3 separate regions of the Homo sapiens genome follow, and all the other regions are linked to region 3. The links are contacts of gene promoters, found by promoter capture Hi-C in human tissues and cell types (Jung and others, 2019). All regions are on one chromosome and are shown on one strand. Each heading gives the region's core, a stretch centred on a gene start or on the middle of the fragment in contact. The rest is flanking DNA. Distances are from core to core; before and after follow the strand shown.

The links. Contacts are between HindIII fragments. The study calls those that stand out against the background at their distance.
Region 1: a contact is called between a fragment that was not itself captured here and the fragment with the promoter of CCKAR in region 3, in 2 of the 25 tissues and cell types used here (neural progenitor cells and thymus).
Region 2: a contact is called between a fragment that was not itself captured here and the fragment with the promoter of CCKAR in region 3, in 2 of the 25 tissues and cell types used here (IMR-90 fibroblasts and lymphoblastoid cells).

The regions. Positions count from the first base shown.
Region 1 is chr4:26,561,606-26,565,145 of GRCh38, reverse strand. No RefSeq gene overlaps it. Among named protein-coding and RNA genes, the nearest start is that of TBC1D19, 21 kb to the left of the region's middle. The HindIII fragment of the contact is 9,820 bases long and covers 1-3,540 here.
Region 2 is chr4:26,585,466-26,589,402 of GRCh38, reverse strand. All of the region lies in intron 1 of TBC1D19 (TBC1 domain family member 19), which reads right to left. Among named protein-coding and RNA genes, the nearest start is that of TBC1D19, 3.4 kb to the right of the region's middle. The HindIII fragment of the contact is 5,892 bases long and covers 1-3,937 here.
Region 3 is chr4:26,488,402-26,492,292 of GRCh38, reverse strand. CCKAR (cholecystokinin A receptor) reads left to right here and starts at 1,809. Exons shown (of 5, transcript NM_000730.3): 1 at 1,809-2,137; 2 at 2,809-3,060. The coding sequence starts at 2,026. The HindIII fragment of the contact is 14,703 bases long and covers 1-3,891 here.

The DNA.
Region 1 (3,540 bases), core at 294-2,793, 73 kb before region 3:
TTATAAAACCATCAGATCTTGTGAGACTTATTCACTATCATGAGAACAGCATGGGAAAGACCCACCCCCATGATTCAGTTACCTCTCACCAGGTCCCTCCCACGACACATGGGAATTATGGGGGCTACAATTCAAGATAAGATTTGGGTGGGGACAATTGTTATTTACTAGAAGCATGGTCCACACTCAGTCACCTATTCTCTAGCCATGTTGCCCACTCAGCATGGGAGGTGTACTGGTGGAAGAATCCCATGAGGAGCTGACAGTGGTAGCCACATGTACTTCACTTTCAGCAGTTTGAGGCACGTGGGCTTCAGCCAGGGGAAGTAGATTTACAGAGGTATGCTCAAATTTCAGTTAAATCAACCTTCCCAAGTGGAACAACAACAAAAAAAAGATGTTGCAGAGAAATCATAGACCAACTCTATCACGTTAATAATGCAAGGATGCACACAAAATGGCAAATCTGTTATTTTGTGACTACCTAGTACAAGCCCTTTATCAGTCACATGACAATTTGTAAAAGAAATGTTGTAGAGAAATATATGACTAGAAGTTGGCCAAAATTTCTCAAAAATATTAATGTCTATCTGAAATATAGGTTTATATCCACTCTCACAAATGATAATCTTCTTTGTAAATGTATCTTGTGTGTGAGATATTAGTTATTGATAGTCTAGAAGCATCACAATTTGCAAGACCCTTAAAGGCTAAGCAGGCAAAAATTATGGGGAGACAGCAGAGTAGGAACCAACAGAATCTATCTTCCTACCTAGACAATAATTACACTGGCAGAATCAGTGCAATATAACTATTTTGGAACTCTGGAGTCTATTGAAGGCTTGCAAATTCCAGGTGAAGGTTAGAACAGTAAATTGCAGTCAATTTCAGCTCTTAGCTCAGCAGCAGCAATCCTACAGGGTGAAGTGAAAGGACACTGGACAGTAACTTGAATCAGTATAAAGATAAAAGATCCCAAGAAAGGTAAATACATGTGCAGTTATGAAAGGAAGTATTATTGTAACTTTTGTTTGTAATTCCACATATTGTTTTCTACATCATTTAGGAGGTGGCCAATGAAGTAAAAAAAAAATTGGTTTATGTTTTAGGGCTTACAATGTAAAAAGATAATGTCATGACATCAATAACTAAAAGAGATGGGAATAGAGTTGTTAAGGAGCAGAGTGTTTTTATGTTATTGAAGTTAAGATGGTATACATTCTAATTAGAGCATTATAACTTGCAGATATTAAATATAATCCCCAAAGAAATGACAAAGAAAATAGATATAGAATGTAAAAAAATGAAATGAGAAGGGAATTAAAACATTTCACTACAAAAATATACAACCAAACACAAAAAAAGATAGTACCACAGAAAATGAGGGAAAAAGAAAAGCTATAAGGCACATATAAAACAAACAGGAAAATGACAGAAGTAGTCCCTTCTTATCAGTAATTACTTCAAATGTGAATGGATAAAATTCTCCAATCAAGAGATAGATTGGCTAAATGGATTTTTGAAAGATCCAAATATATGCCATCTACAGGAGACTCACTTTAGATACAAAGAAAGAAATACATTGAAAATGAAAGGATAGAAAAAGATATTTCATGTAAATAGTAACCAAAAGAGGGTAAGTGTGGCTATACTTACGTAAGACAAAATAGACTTCAGATCAAAAAAATTTATAAGAGGCAAAGAAGAGCATTATATGTTAGTAAAAGGTTCAATATAGTAAGAAGATGAAGCAACTATAAACATTTATGTACCTAATAACAAATTATCAAAATATATGAGCAAAAATGAACAGAATTGAAGGGAGAAATAGACAGTTTTACAATAATAGTTGAAGATGTTAATAGCTTTCTGTCCATAGTGGACAGAACTGAAGAGAGAAATAGACAGTTTTATAATAATAGTTGAGGAAGTTAATAGCTTACTGTCAATAACGGACAGAGCAACTAGACAGAAGATAAGTAAAGAAATAGAGAACTGAACACATAATAAACCCACTAGATCTAACAGACATATACAGAACACTAACCAACAACCGCAGAATACACGTTCTTCACAAGTGCACATAAGACATTTTTCAGGATACAGCATATATTAGTTTTAATAAATTTTAAATGATAGGTATCTAAAAAGTATGTTTTCCAACTATAAGTGAATGAAATTAGAAATGAGTAACAGAAGAAAAATTGGAAAACTTATATTATTCAAAATTAAACATCATACTTTTTTTGAGTTTAGGTCTCACTCTGTCACCCAGCTGGAGTACAGTGCAGTGGCTTAATCATAGCTCACTGCAGCCTTGAAATCCTGGGCTCAAGCAATCCTTCCACCTCAGCCTCCTGAGTATTTAGGACCACAGGCACCCACCACCATGCCTGGTTATTTTTTTTTTCTTTTGTAGAGATGGAGTCTTGCTATGTTGCCCAGGCTGGTCTCAAACTCCTGGCCGCAAGCAATCCTCCCAAAGGGCTGGAATTACAGGCATGAACCACTGCCCTGGCCAACAACACACTCAAACAACCTATGGATTAAAGAGGAAATCACAAGGGTGATTTAGTGATGAATGAAAACAAAAATATGGCATACCAAAACTATGGGACACAGAAAAAGTAGTGCTAAGGAGGAAATGTATAGCTATAAACACTAATATTAAAAAGCAGAACTCAAATCAACAGCCTAACTTTACCATTTAAGGAACTAGAAAAAAGTTAAACCCAAAGCTAGAAGGAAGGAAATAAGAGTCAAGTGGAGAGAAATGAAATAGAGAGAGAAAAACAATGGAGAAAATCAATAAAATCAAAGATAGGTTGTTTGAATAGATCAACAAAGTTGACAAATCTTTAGCTAGGTTGACCAAGAGAAAAAAAGAGAGACTCAAATTACTAAAATCAGAATGAAACTGGGGACTTTACTACTAATTCTACAGAAATAAAAAGGATTACATGAACAACTGTATTATAACAAATTGAATAACCGAGATAAAATGGACAAATTCCTAGAAACACAAACCTACCAAGACCTAATCACAAAGAAATAGAAATCTGAACAGATCTATAATTAGTAAGGAGGTTAAATCAGTAATGAAAAAAATCTCCCAACAAAGAAAGCCCAGGACCTGATGGCTTTACTGGTGAGTTCTATTAAACATTTAAAGAAGAGCTAACACAGATTCTTCTCAAACTTTTTCTTAAAATTAAAGAAATGGAAACACTTCTTAATTCGTCCTATGAGGGCAGTAATACCTTGATATCAAAGTCAGACAAAGATACTACAAGAAAACTACAGACCAATATTTCTTATGAACATTGATGCAAAAATTCTTAACAGAATACCTGAAAATGGAACCCAGCAACATATTAAAAGGAATATATACCATGTCCAAGTGGAATGAGAAGATTGTTCAACATATGAAAATTGATAAATGTAATACACCATATTACTAAAATGAAGAGGGGAAAACCCAAATGATTATCTCAATTGATGCAGAAAAAGAATTTGACAAAATTCAACATTCTTTCATGA
Region 2 (3,937 bases), core at 1,103-3,602, 97 kb before region 3:
AAGAAAGTCAAGGATGTAGTAGAAACAATGAGAAAAACTCTGTAGTACCCTAAGATCTATGCCAAGCACAAAGTAACAGCAGTCTACTACTGGGTTTTGTTGTTGTTGTTGTTGTTGTTTGTGTTTTTGAGATGGAGTCTCGCTCTGTCCCCTAGGTTGAAGGGCAGTGGCACGATCTTGGCTCGCTGCAACCTCCACCTCCCGGGTTCAAGCAATTCTCCTGCCTCAGCTTCCCGAGTAGTTGGGATTACAGGAATGCACCACCACACCTGGCTAATTTTTGTATTTTTAGTAGAGACAGGGTTTCACCATGTTGGCGAGGCTGGTCTCAAACTCCTGGCCTTAAGTGATTTGCCCACCTCAGCCTCCTAACTACCTCTAGTTTCAAAGGAATCTGAAGCCTGTGATATACTGAAGGTAATGACAACAATAACAAAACCCAAACCCAGCTTGATCCTTGTCTATATTGACTGAAGCCCCTACACTCAGTAAGGATATAGAATACTGAAACAAAATTGCCTACTAGACCTAATTGACAATTATGGAACAGAAACAGCAGAATAAGCATGCTTTTCAAGTACATATGAAACAAACAAGATAAAACATATTCTGGATCATAAAAGTAAGTAAACAGCTAAAATCATACATATTTTATTCTTGACCATAAGAGAATTAAACTAGAAATCAATCAGAGAAAGATAGTGGTAAACAACACATTTATAAATAACCCATGGGTTATTAGAACCCATAAAATCACAAGAGAATTTTTTTAAATTTTAATTGGGTGAAAATGGCAATAGACTATATCCTAATTTATAGACACAGATAAACCAGTACATAGAAAGAAATTTAGAGCATTTAATTAGAAGAGAATAAAGGTCTCAAATCAAAAATTTAAATTTCACCTAAATAGCTTTAAAAATGCAAATTAAATCCAAAGCAAGCAGAAAAAAATAATAAAGGAAAAAAATCAGAGCGATTGAAAACAGAAAAACAATCAAACCAAGAGCTACTTCTTTGAAAGTATTGATATAATTGATAAATCTCTAGCCAGATTAATTAGGGAAAAAGAACACATGGCCAGGTGCGGTGGCTTATGCCTTTAATCCCAGCCCTTTAGGAGGCCAAGGCGGGCGGATCACGAGGTCAGGAGATCGAGACCATCCTGGCTAACACGGTGAAATCCTGTCTCTACTAAAAATACAAAAAATCATCTGGGCGTGGTGGCAGGCGCCTGTAGTCCCAGCTACTCAGGAGGCTGAGGTAGAAGAATGGCGTGAACCCGGGAGGCGGAGCTTGCAGTGAGCCGAGATCATGCCACTGCACTCCAGCCTGGGCGACAAAGCGAGATTTCACCTCAAAAAAAAAAAAAAAAAAAGAACACATATGACAGTATAAGGAAGGAAGGAGGGGCTATCACTACAAATCCTACAGACACTAAAAGGAATATAAGGGGATCATATAAACAATTTTATACCAGTAAATTCGTTAAAATAAATTAAGTGCGGCAACTTCTTGAAACATAAAAACTACAAAAGCTTACAGAAGAAGAAATAGATAACCTGAATGGCCTGCATATATTTTTAATTGAATTTTTTTAATTAAAAATGTGTCCATAAAGAAAACTCTAGGCACCAGTGACTTTGCTGGGAACTCTACCAAATATTTAAGGAGCAAATAATATTAATTCTACATAAATTCTTCCAGAAAATAAGGAACACTTCCCAACTTATTTTATAAGATCATCATTAACTGGTATCGAAAGCAGACAAAGTGTTACAAGAAAAAAAAAAACTACAAAGAAATATCTTTTTTTTTTTTTTTTTGAGACAAGGTCTGGCTCTATCACCCAGGCTGAAGTGCAGTGGTGCGATCTCTGCTCACTGCAACCTCTGCTACCCAGGTTCAAGCCATCCTCCCACCTCAACCTCTCAAGTAGCTGGGACTACAGGTGCGCACTGCCACACTGGCTAATTTTTGTATTTTTTGTGGAGATAGGGTTTTGCCATGTTGCCCAGGCTGGTCTCAAACTCGTGAGCTCAAGCGATCTGCCCACCTTGGCCTCCCAAAGTGCTAGGATTACAGGCATGAGCCATCGCGCCTGGCCACAAACCAGTATCTTTCATAAATACAGTTACAAAATCTTCAGCAAAATGTTAGCAAATTGAGTCAAGAAATATATAAAAAGAATAATGCATCATAACCAAGTGGAATTTATCTCAGGAATACAAAATTGGTGCAACATTCAAAGCCAATCAGTATTATTCATCATATCAACATGAGCAGGAAAAATAATATGAACATATCTACAGATATAAAAAAGTACTTAACAAAGTTCAACATCCATTCATGATAAAACTCTCAGAAAACTAGGGATAGAATAGAGCTTCCTCAACCTGCAAAAAAGCATCTGCAAAACATTGCACTGGAGGCATTATCCAGTACAGTAAGTCAAGAAAAAGAAATAAAAGGCACACGGATTGGAAAGGAAGAAGTAAAACTGTCTTTAGTTCATTATGATACATGTACCTGGAAAATCTTAAGTAATCTACAGAAAAGGTACTATAACCAATATATAAGTTTAGCAAGTTCTCAGAATACATGGTAAATAGATTAATATCAATTGCATTTCTGTATGTTAAAAATAAAAAATTAAAACTTAAGTCACCATTTATAATAGCGTCAAAAACCACAAAATACTTAAGGGGAAAATCTCAACAAAGAGTATGCAATATTTGTGTGCTGAAACTACAAAACACTGACAAGAGAAAATAAAAACAACATAAATAAATGAAAAGATAAACTGTGTCCATGGGCCAGAAAATTTAATATTGCTAAAAATCTCGATTCTCCCCAAATTGATCTACAGATTCAACATAATCCCAATCCAATTTTCAACAATTTTTGTAGTAATTTATAAGAGGATTCTAAAATTTATATAGCAAAGCAAAGGACCTAGAATAGCCAAAATAATTTTGGGAAAAAAAGGAACAAATTTGGAGGACTTTGATCTCAAGGCTTACTATAAAGTTACAAAAAGCAAGACAGTGTGGTATTGTATGATGAACAAATAGATCAATGGAACAAAATAGAGAGCCAGAAATTTTGTGTGTGTGTGTGTAATTGATTTTCGACAAAGGTGCCAAGGAAATTAGCAGAGAAAGGATAGGTTTTTCAGCAAATCAGTAATGGAAATACTGGATATCCATATGCAAAAAAAAAAAAAAAAAAGCTTACCTTGCACCATATACAATAATTAACTCAAATGGATCACAAAATGGATCACACTTCTACATTTAGGATCACAGACCTAAATGTAGAAGCTAAAACTATAAAACTTCTAGAACAAACAAACATAGTAGAAACTTTTTTAAGACCTTGAGTTAGGCAAACACTTTTAGGTAGGGAACAAAAAGCACAAATCATAAAACAATTGATAAAAATTTATGTCACCAAAATTAAGCATTTTTCTCTTTCAAAGACCCAGTTGAGAAAATGAAAAGATAATCCACAGACTGGGCAGGGTGTGGTGGCTCACGTCTGTAATCCCAGCACTTTGGGAGCCTGAGGCAGGCAGATCACTTGAGATCAGGAGTTCAAGACCAGCCTGGCCAACATGGTGAAACCCCATCTCTACTGGAAACATAAAAAATTAGCTGGGCATGGTGGTGGATGCCTGTAATCCCAGCTATTCAGGAGGCGAAGGCGGGAGGATCACTTGAACCTGGGAGGCAGAGGTTGTAGTGAGCCGAGATCACACCACTGCACTCCAGCCAGGGTGACAGAGGAAGACTCCGTCTCAAAAAAAAAAGATAATCCACAGACTGGGAGAAAATATTTGCAAGACGCACATCTGATAAAGACTTACATCATATAGAAAGAATCCTTACAACTCAACAATAAGAAGACAACACTATTTTTTTTTTAATGGGCAGAA
Region 3 (3,891 bases), core at 560-3,059:
GGAAGGAAGGAAGGAAGGAAGGAAGGAAGGAAGGAAGGAAGGAAGGAAGGAAACTAATTTGCCCAGTATTTCCTAGCAGGTAACCAGTGAAGCCAGGATTTGATCCCAAGTCTGTCTGATGCCAAAGCCTGTCCTCCCAATAACATCCACAGCTTCTCCAGTGTCCCTTCCCCTTCTTGTTTCTGTGACTAAATGCCCCAAACCATGTGGTCTTCATGGTTTCAAAGAAAAGAGGCACCACTGTCTTTCCAGCCCCACACTGACAGTAAAAATGCGTTAGTTCCTCTGTGTCTGGCAGAGACTCAGCAAGATGTAGCATGCAGCTCTGCCAGTGGAAGCATTGTCAGTACACAAGGAGCCCCACGGGTATCTAGCAAATGGACCAAGTCTCAGCACAGCCAAGCAGGGCGTCAGAAACGCAGGTTTCACAGCCATTGTCGTCTGCTTTCCAAAGGGTCTGAACTGAGGACATAATCTGTGCAATGGAGGTTGAAGGGCTTTCCAGCACCACAGAGCTTCATGGAACACCCAGGACCCTGAGATGGCCCCCCTCTCTGATCTCACGTCCTGCTGTTTGCCTCTCACTCACTCCTACTTCTATCTATTTGTACCTCAATGGGGCCACACTCATTCCCACCTCAGGGCCTTTGCACTTGCTGTTACCTCTGCTAAAAGTGCTCCTCCTTTTGCCTGGGAGAAGCTGTCTTGGGATCTTCACAAGACTTTGTCCTTCTTGTGGTTCAGTCTCAGATCACAGTCCCCTCCTTAAGAGACCTCTCCTGACTACCCCTTCTAAATCAGCAGCCCCAGGCCAGGTGCAGTGGCTCACGCCTGTAATGCCAACACTGGGAGGCCAAGGCAGGAGGATTGCTTGAGCTCAGGAGCTTGAGACCAGCCTGGGCAACATAGCGAGACCTCCTCTCTTCTAAAACTAAAAAAATCAGCTGGGCTTAGTGGTGTGTGCCTGTAGTCCCAGCTACTCAGGAGGCTAAGGTAGGAGGATTGCTTGAGCCAGGGAGCAAGGCTGCAGTGAGCCATGATCGCGCCACTCCACTGCAGCCTGGGGAACAGAGCAAGACCCTGTCCCCGCCCCCCAAAAAATCAGCCCCTAATCTGTTTGTATACATCACATCTCCCTGCTTTACTCCCTTTGTAGTACTTACTACCTGAAATAATTCTGCTCATTATTTGCTGACATGCTAGAAAAGTGCCTGGCAAATGATTGACTCTCAATGAAGATGTGCTGAATGCAAGGCTTCATGAATGAAGAGGAAATCTCACTAACGTCTTTTGTAATAAGGACCCAGGTACCTATGTTCAAAAGTGCCTCAATCCTAGTTAACAAGGGCAGAGACCACGAGAAACAACACTGTGTTTAGTAGCAACTTAACAACCAGCCAGCAGTTCTGTCCACACACACACCACCGGGCATGGTTCCAAAGCTAAAAAGGCACTAATTGCTTTTCTATAAGGAGGTAGAACACAGTCCCTCCGTGTTCTTTAGGCCTGATGGTCTGCATTATCGGATCTGTTACCGTGTTAATTGTTCCTGTCTCACACAGCCGGTTTGGGCTTTCTTCTGCATATGTCTGGGATGGTGACGGGTTCCTATATAGAGGAGTACTGGGGAAGCCTCTGTGTGTGTGTGTGTGTCCGTGCATATGTACACATGTGTGTAAAAAGCAGCCACACGCTGAGAATGGTTAACGGGTAGCCAGGCTGTCTGTACTCAGGGCCCTAAGACTGGCCCAGGAAAGGGCCGGGGGAGGTGGGGCGGGGTGAAGGTGGAGCGGGCTTGGCTTGTGCTCACTGCCTTTTCCACAACAGGAGTACAAATGCTGGAGTGAGTGAGGTGAACTCAAGTCGCCTTTAGGAATGGCTGAAAAAGCCCACACCTGGAAATCACTCCCTCCCTGCTCCTCCACGGCAGGTTGCATCTGCGAGACGCTTCGGTCATTAGAGGAATGAGCCGGGAGTGAGCAATTCACCAGCTCTCCAGCACTTGGTGGAAAGCAGCAGGCAAGGATGGATGTGGTTGACAGCCTTCTTGTGAATGGAAGCAACATCACTCCTCCCTGTGAACTCGGGCTCGAAAATGAGACGCTTTTCTGCTTGGATCAGCCCCGTCCTTCCAAAGGTAAGTGTCGGAAGCTGTTATTTTAATTCAGGAAACTATTGAGTTGTGGGAGAAATCAGCAAAGGCAAGGCTGATAAAAAATATATATAACCAAGTCATTGTGAGACAAGGCTAGATAAAGTCATATGTTCAGAAGTTTGGAGAAGAGATTAAAAAGCAGAATAGAGTCAAATATTCTTATTGTCCCCCATGGGGGAGTTGGGCATTCATGAATAGGACTTGGGGGAACAAAAGCAGGGGAGGAAAAGCTGAGTGAAGCAAGAGGGACTACAAGTGTCAAAGCCTGAACTTACAAGCACAGCAGAAAAGGTGTTGTCACCATGCAGCTGTTTTCTTTTCTTGGGGGGAAACCCAGCATGAAGTGATTAAAGTGAAATAATGCTTAGCAGCCAGGAAAGAAAGTGATCACTGTTCACTTGAGGAGCTTTGTTCTTAAGAAAAAGTGGTTCCCTGAGTGATCCTTTAACAAACCAACCTTCTAAAAAGAAAATAATTCAGTCTCTGCTTTCCTCAATTTGTTTCCGCAAAATGTTGCCAGGACAGGAATCGTGGGTCCAGTGATGTACACCCCGGTGGGGGGAAAATCGGCAGGAATTCACCCTTGGCTTCGGTTTTAGCATTCTGCTGTCATCACCTCCATCCCTCCGTCTTGCTCCTGTTTCTCTCTGCAGAGTGGCAGCCAGCGGTGCAGATTCTCTTGTACTCCTTGATATTCCTGCTCAGCGTGCTGGGAAACACGCTGGTCATCACCGTGCTGATTCGGAACAAGCGGATGCGGACGGTCACCAACATCTTCCTCCTCTCCCTGGCTGTCAGCGACCTCATGCTCTGTCTCTTCTGCATGCCGTTCAACCTCATCCCCAATCTGCTCAAGGATTTCATCTTCGGGAGCGCCGTTTGCAAGACCACCACCTACTTCATGGGTAAGTTGCTGCTGGTGACTCTTTCTGGAGCTTGCCCCAGACCCCACTCAGCCCCAGACCTTCCCAAACCTCTGACAATCACAGCAAAGGAGCCCTGCTGAGGGCTGAATCACAGAACATCAGGCTGTGCATGGCTGTGTGCACGGACATTGGTGCTGGCTTGACAGTCATCCTTATACGTTCCCCACAAGTCGGTCCCCATCATCCATGTTGGAGGTCAGTTTCTAAGAGTGAAATAAATTGATAGGAAAACACAGGGGCAGTTGATTTTGCTTGCTTCTATTTGAAGGGAAGAGGGACTTGCTTGCTTCTGTTTGAAGTCAGAAGTGACTTTAAGCTGCTCTATCCCTTTCTGGAAGCTGTTGACTGTGTCCTGATCTATACACAACTTGAGTCCTGGCTTCTAGGGAGGGTGAGGATGATGGAGGAGGGTTCTTTGCAGTTGTTTCTTTTGTTTTCTTAGGGAACAGGGGCTATTTGAAAACCAGTTCTATCGCAGTTTCAGATTCTCTTCTCAGGATTCACTTCCCAGCCTGTTCTCCCCAAAGCTGGGGCCATCTCTGGCAGAAAGAGAGAGAGAGAGAGGTCTCTGCCCCTAGATGAGGAGTTGAATTTGCTCCTGGGGGCTATGGGGTCGCTAAGCTGACCCTGATTGGCTGAGATATATAGCTCTTTGCCTATGCCAAACAAAAATGATGATAATGAAAATCATAAGAGCTAAATTTTTTTAGCGCTTTTATGCACCCCATGTGGTACTAAGTGCTTTGCCTTCCATGATCTTACCTTATCTCCCAACCACTCTATGAAGTAAATGCAATGATTCTTCCTTGT